Linked DNA regions of Homo sapiens: region 1 is linked to region 2. The links are contacts of gene promoters, found by promoter capture Hi-C in blood cells and fetal thymus (Javierre and others, 2016). All regions are on one chromosome and are shown on one strand. Each heading gives the region's core, a stretch centred on a gene start or on the middle of the fragment in contact. The rest is flanking DNA. Distances are from core to core; before and after follow the strand shown.

The links. Contacts are between HindIII fragments. The CHiCAGO score rates a contact against its expected background, and 5 or more counts as called.
Region 1: a fragment that was not itself captured here is called in contact with the fragment with the promoter of CLPB in region 2 in 1 of 17 cell types (M1 macrophages); the score reaches 6.1 in M1 macrophages.

What each region holds. Positions count from the first base shown.
Region 1 is chr11:72,258,279-72,261,866 of GRCh38, reverse strand. No RefSeq gene overlaps it. Among named protein-coding and RNA genes, the nearest start is that of PHOX2A, 16 kb to the right of the region's middle. The HindIII fragment of the contact is 1,643 bases long and covers 721-2,363 here.
Region 2 is chr11:72,432,544-72,436,089 of GRCh38, reverse strand. CLPB (ClpB family mitochondrial disaggregase) reads left to right here and starts at 1,559. Exons shown (of 16, transcript NM_001258392.3): 1 at 1,559-2,018. The coding sequence starts at 1,616. RefSeq lists enhancers at 608-1,414, 1,478-1,937. The HindIII fragment of the contact is 13,854 bases long and covers 1-3,546 here.

The sequences.
Region 1 (3,588 bases), core at 293-2,792, 170 kb after region 2:
AATAACAATTTAAAAATTTTTTAAAATAACAATTAAAAAAATTTTTTTAATAACAATTTTAAAAAATGGGACACTGGGCGTGGTAGCTCACACCTGTAATCCCAGCACTTTGGGAGGCCGAGGCGGGCGGATCACCTGAGGTTGGGAGTTCGAGACCAGCCTGACCAACATGGAGAAACCCCGTCTCTACTAAAAATACAAAATTAGCTGGGCGTAGTGGTTCATGCCTGTAATCCCAGCACTTTGGGAGGCCGAGGCAGGAGGATCACGAAGTCAGGAAATCAAGACCACCCTGGCCAATATGATGAAACCCCATCTCTACTCAAAATACAAAAATTAGCTGGGTGTGGCGGTGTGCAACTGTAGTCCCAGCTACTCAGATGGCTGAGGCAGAATTGCTTGAACCTGGTAGGCAAAGGTTGCAGTGAGCTGAGATCACGCCACTGCACCCCAGCCTGGAGACAAAGCAAGACTCCGTCTCAAAAAAAAAAAAAAAAAATTGAATGCAAAACTATAAAACTCCTAGAAGATAACATAAGACAAAATCTAGATGACCTTGGGTTTGGTGACGATTTTCTATGTACTTATTTATTTATTTTACTATTCTTAAAGTTTACTTACTACTATATAAATGAAGACGGTGATTTTTTTTAATACAACACCAAAAGCAGAATTCATGAAAGAAGAAACATATGTTAGACTTTACTAAAATTAAAAGCTTCTATTCTGCAAAAGATGCTTTTGAGAGAATGAAGACAAACCACGAACTGGGATAAAATCTTTGTAAAACACATATAAAGGACTGGTGTCCAAAATATACAAGAACTTTTCAAACTTGACAATAAAGAAACAATCACCCGATTTAAAAATTAGCAAAAGATAGGAACAGACACCTCACCAAAGGATATGTGCAGACAGCAAATAAATACATGAAAGATGCTCAACATTATGTCATCAGGGAATTGCAAATTAAAACAATAAATGAGATATCACTATGTACCTACTAGAATGGCTTAAATCCAAAACGCTGACGACAACAACTCATTAAGGCATTCAGGGTACCGAGTACTTTCTGCTATTTAGGATTTATCAGCACTTTATCATAATCATAGTTCGCCAGTGTAACGTGTTATGGGACTTTAAGATTATCAAAGTCCCTGTGTACTAAATTGTGGCACAGAGGCAGAGAGCTGACATAGTTCTTGAAGCAAAATAGTGAAAATGTACTTCTGCCCCTGCCAGGATAAACAAAATTACCTCTGGTCTTCTTTGCTTATTGAAATAGGGAAAAAACATTTGCAAGTTAATAACTTCATCGCAGGTGGGAGAGGCGCTGTTGATTTGCTCTAGTGGAGAAACCACATCTGCAAGAGCAATGCAACTGGAGTCATCACCTGTCTTAAACTTTCAATCATCCACCGTCATTCTCAAAGGCCCTTCTGACTTCTTTGTGAGCCAAACAGGTAAATTAAATGGATAAGTAACAAGAATTTTCACCTCTAAATTTTCAGATCTTTGATGGTTGCACTAATCTCGCATTTCCCCCAGCAAGGCATTATTGCTCTTTGTTTATAATTTAAATAGGGAGGAAGGTTTAGTGCTTTTGCTCGACCCTTTCAACCACATATTCCATGGACTGGAGAAACATGGGGATTCTGCCATTTGCTGAATGCATCTAGTCTAACTATACACTCGGGAACTAAAGAAATGATGGGAAAATGGGTTTAAGAACTGGGATGATAGTAAGGTAGACTGAAATCAAAAGTTGCAGCCAGGCACAGTGGCTCACACCTGCAATCCTAGCACTTTGGGAGGCCAAGGCAGGAGGATCACTTGAGCCCAGAGTTCGAGACCAGCCTAGGCAACATGGTGAGATCCCTGTCTTTACAAAAATTTAAAAAGAAAAAAAAAAGGTAGCTAGCCATGGTGGCACACGCCTGTAGTTCCAGCTAATCAGGAGGCTGAGACAAGGGGATGGCTTCAGTACAGGAGTTCGAGGCTGTAGTGGGTTATGATCATGCCACTGCACTCCACCCTGGGCAACATAGCAAGACCCTGTCTCAGAAAAAAAATCAAAAGTCAATTTATCACTTGACTCCATAAGCCTTCATTCACTCTGAGTGATTCATTAATCACTGTGCCAACTACAACTCCAAAGATTAGCATTAGAGCCAATGTCCAACACTCCCAAGGTCACAGTTACTGGATCTGTTTCCTAGGGCTGCCATAACAAAATATTATACACAAGGTAGCCTGAAACCACGGAAATTTATTCTCCATCTTCACATGGTGTTCCCTCTGTGTCCAAATTTCTCCTTTTTTATAAGGTTAGAAAAAGAAAGAAAAGAAAAGAAAAAAAAGCTTCTTCTAAGGAGACCATCATTGGATTAGGGCTAAACCAGTATGACCTCACCTTAACCTGATTGCAAATAAACTATTTCAAAATAAGGTCACCTATTTCACAGGTACTGGGGACCAGAACTTCAACATATCTTTTGGAGGAGACACAATTAAACCTACAATAGCTATCCTGGAAAATGACCACAGGCCTTTCTGGGGGACCCTATAAGGAATACAAAGGGAGGCAGGGCACTGTGGCTCATACCTGCAATCCCAGCACTTTGGGAGGCCGAGGTGGGCAGATCACTTGAGGTCAGGATTTCTAGACCAGCCTGGCCAACATGATGAAGCCCTGTCTCTACTAAAAACACAAAAATTAGCCGGGCATGGTGGTGGGCACTTGTAATCCCAGCTACTCAGGAGGCCGAGGCAAGACAATTGCTTGAACCCGGGAGGTGGAGGTTGCAGTGAGCCAGAATCATGCCACTGCACTCCAGCCTGGGTGACAGAGTGAGACTCTGTAAAAAAAAAAAAAAAAAAAAAAAAAGAAAGAAAGAAAGAAAGAAAGAAAGAAAGAAAGAAAGAAAGAAAGAAATATATAAGGAGGTATTTCTAAATCTTGCTTAAGTAAACTTGCCTTCACCCCATTCATGGGGCTGTAAGTCTGTGAACAAACCCAGGACAGGAAATTCAGTGAGAGATCATAACTCCATTATTCCCCATCCTATTGTCTTAAGTGGGTCCCCTTTTCACCAGTTCCAGAGGGTTTTGGGTTTTACAGATCAGTTAGAATCTTAGTGAACTGCTTACATTCTTTAATCCTAGGGACTCAGTGATCTCAAAATGATCAACCAGCAAAGATCTCTGCAGGTCAGACCACTCAGAGCAGCTGGCAATCAGAGTAACCACACCCAGCTTGCCCCTGGCAGTGAAGTACCCCACCCCACCCTCACAACCCTAGGATTCCATCATGTTGGTGGAAATGAGGGCACCTACATGGTGAGTGGTGGCTCATGCCTGCAATCTCAGCACATTGGGAGGCCAAGGTGGGAAGGTGGCTTAAACCCAGAAGCTCAAGGCAAGCCTGGGCAACATAGCAAGACCCTGTCTCTAAAAAATATATAATTTTTTAATTAGCTGGGCATGGTGGCATGCACCTGAAGTCCCAGCTACTTGGGAGGCTGAGGTGGGAGAATCACTTGAGCCCGGGAGGTGGAGGTTGCAATGAGTCATGATCATGCCACTGCA
Region 2 (3,546 bases), core at 310-2,809:
ATAAAAGTGAAAAAACAAAGTCCTTGTCTCATGGGGCTCATGCTGTAGTGGAGAAAGACAATAAAAATGTAGTATGTCAGATGGTGATAAATGCTGTGAAGGAAAATTAGGATGGGGTGCGTAGGATTACTATTTTAACCAGAATGGTCAGGGAAGACTCTGATCATGTGAAGTCTGAGCAGACGTACAAGACTTGGAAGAAACAGAACTGGCACAAAGAAGAACTTCCTCCTTTGCCTACCTATGGGTTCAGTTTGGAAAAGAGGGGGCGGGATGGGAGTGCAGGTGTTAATGGAAACTATATGCTCAAAATCAGAAGACCTGAGCATTACTTTACTCCAGGTGATTTACTGGCAAATCTTTTCACCTTTGAGCCTCAATTCCCTTCACTGTAGACGGGAATAACAGTTCTTGCCCAGCTTCTCACACACAGCTGCCATGAGGATCAGATGAGATGACCCACTTGAAAGCCCTTTAAAAATAACACAATCAGGGCCAGGCGCAGTGGCTCACGCCAGTAATCCCAGTACTTAGGGAGGCTGAGGCAGGTGGGTCGCTTGAGGTCAGGAGTTGGAGACCAGCCTGGCCAACATGGTGAAACCCCGTCTCTACTACTAAAAATACAAAAATTAGCCAAGCGTGGTGGTGCGTGCCTGTAATCCCAGCTACTCGGTAGGCTGAGGTGGGAGAATCGCTTGGACCAGGGAGACGGAGGTTGCAGTGAGCCGAGATGGCGCCACTGCACTCCAGTTTGGGCGGCAGAGTGAGATTCTGTCTCAAAAAAAAAAAAAAAAAAAAGACCGGAAGTCAACTCTTCAAATAAAATGTATTCCTATCTCAGGTGCAGTAGTTACCCTAAACATCTTTTTGAAAGGCCGCCCAGGCTGAAAAAAGAGATAGGCTAAACTAAATAAGCATAAGTTTCATAATATGCCTCTGCTGAAGATTCTTGGGTAATTTACACCAGTCAAAAATTGTGGGCCGGGCGCGGTGGCTCACGCTTGTAACCCCAGCATTTTGGGAGGCCGAGGCGGGCGGATCGCCTGAGGTCAGGAGTTAGAGACCAGCCTGGCCAACGTGGTGAAACCCCGTTTCCACTAAAAATACAAAAATTAGCTGGGCATGGTGGCGGGCGCCTGTAATCCCAGCTACTCGGGAGACTGAGGTAGGAGAATTGCTTGAACACAGGAGACGAAGGTTGCAGTGAGCCGAGATCGCGCCACGGCACTCCGGCCTGTGAGACAGAGCGAGACTCCGTCTCAAAAAAAAAAAAAAAAAAAAAGTGTGTCGTGTGCTTCAACTAAACTAGGAAAGAAGTCTTGGGATTCTAATCTTTAACTCTAATCGCCACGCCCCTTCACCCGAACTCTATTTCCCAATATGCCCCGGGCTTCTATAATCCCGCAGTCATTGTGACGCAATCCCACAGCCTTCTGGGAAACGTAGTTTATTTATTCTCCAGCTGGGGAAAGGCTTAGGGCTGTGGACTACCTCTCCCGTGAGGTAGTGCGCAACTCCACCCTGTTCGCGGCGTCTTCGAACGCGCCGCGGCAGCCATGTTGGACGTGGTCAGCACAGGGGCCGGCACCACGGGGTTATCGAAGCAGCTGTCAAGATGCTGGGGTCCCTGGTGTTGAGGAGAAAAGCACTGGCGCCACGGCTACTCCTCCGGCTGCTCAGGTCCCCAACGCTCCGGGGCCATGGAGGTGCTTCCGGCCGGAATGTGACTACTGGGAGTCTCGGGGAGCCGCAGTGGCTGAGGGTAGCCACCGGGGGGCGCCCTGGAACATCGCCGGCCTTGTTCTCCGGACGTGGGGCAGCCACCGGGGGGCGCCAGGGAGGACGCTTCGATACCAAATGCCTCGCGGCTGCCACTTGGGGACGCCTTCCTGGTCCCGAAGAAACACTCCCAGGACAGGACAGCTGGAACGGGGTCCCCAGCAGGGCCGGACTGGGCATGTGCGCCCTGGCCGCAGCGCTGGTGGTTCATTGCTACAGCAAGAGTCCGTCCAACAAGGGTGATTATGAGATCTGGGTTTGAGGAAGGGAGAGGCGGGAAGATTGTCCTAACTTCGTATCTTAGGAGGGTGGGAGGTACTTATAGGTTTAGATCCTTAGAGCCTAAGTCTTGGAGGGACTCAGACATCATCTGGTTACAGGGGCAGGGTGTTGCCCTAGAGACCTCATCACCTCGGAGTTGTATAATCTCGTACCATAGATCCGCTTCCCCTCTCTGGGCATCATTTTATCCATCTGTACAATGGGGATATTGGACTAAACATCTAATATTATAGCATGGTCCCCTTATGTTTCTCATATTCTGCCTGGTCCAATTCCTCTTTCCTGAGATCTCCAGGAAACGGAAATTATGGGGTGTTTTAAGGGCAACCGCCAGATGGTTTAGAGAAGTTGCCAAACCGCTCCCCCCTACCCCCCGCCACCAAAGGTGCCAGAGTCAGGAACAACCTGACTCGGTTCTAATGCCAGCTTGACCTCAATTTATTTATTTATTTATTTATTTATTTATTTATTTATTTATTTATTTATTTCTGAGATGGAGTCTTGCTCTGTCGCCAAGCTGGAGTGCAGTGGCGCAATCTCGGCCCACTGCAACCTCCGCCTCCCGGGTTCAAGCTATTCTCCTGCCTTAGCCTCCCAAGTAGCTGGGACTACAGGTGCGGGCCACCACACCCAGCTAATTTTTGTATTTTTAGTTGTTGGTCAGGATGGTCTCGATCTCTTGACCTCCTGATCCACCCGCCTTGGCCTCCCAAAGTACTGGGATTACAGGCGTGAGCCACCGCGTCTGACCAATTTCTTTATTTATATAGTGAAGGATAGTTTCCCAACATTTTTACAGTACTGTTATTTTGACTCTTTTTGGAGTTCAGCGGCCTGAGTCTGTCAGTCTCAGGATTTTGCTGTGTCTGGTCTCACATGCTGTGAGGTGATCTTGCCATGTGGGATAGTTGGCAGGAGAAGGAAGGTGGATTCCTGGAGGCCCAAGGGCAACTGCTGGGGGACTGGCTGATCCCGATTAGCATCTCATTTGGATCCGGGGAGCTAAGCAGCAGCTGAGAGAGTGGACAGAGAGCCAGACTGATGACCTATGTGAGTCCAGCCATTCAGGTTCTTAGTTGTTCCTCAAGAAGAAAGACTGAGGCATGGTGTCCATAGATTCCATGCACCCCAAGCTCTGAGAATTTGGAGCAAGAGTTGGGGAGTAGGGAGTGCCTTGACTTTGATTCGTTTGATGTGGCCAATTGTAAAGGAAGGACTTTGGTCTGGGAGAGACAACACTGGGGATCTTGTTTTGGTTCTGTGTCTAACTCTCATTGTGAATTTGGACTTTTGCTTCTCCTCACGGGTCCTCTGTTTCCTCATCTACAAAATGAGGGTTTTGAAATAGACACTAAGGGCATCGAGCTTAGGCATGTTGTAATCCTATAACTTCCAGCATTTTTGGGGGTACCCACTGTGTGTCTAGTTTTAGGCTAGGTGTGTGGGAAGTCCTAACTTAACACAAAATCAGTCAAGGGGACAGTG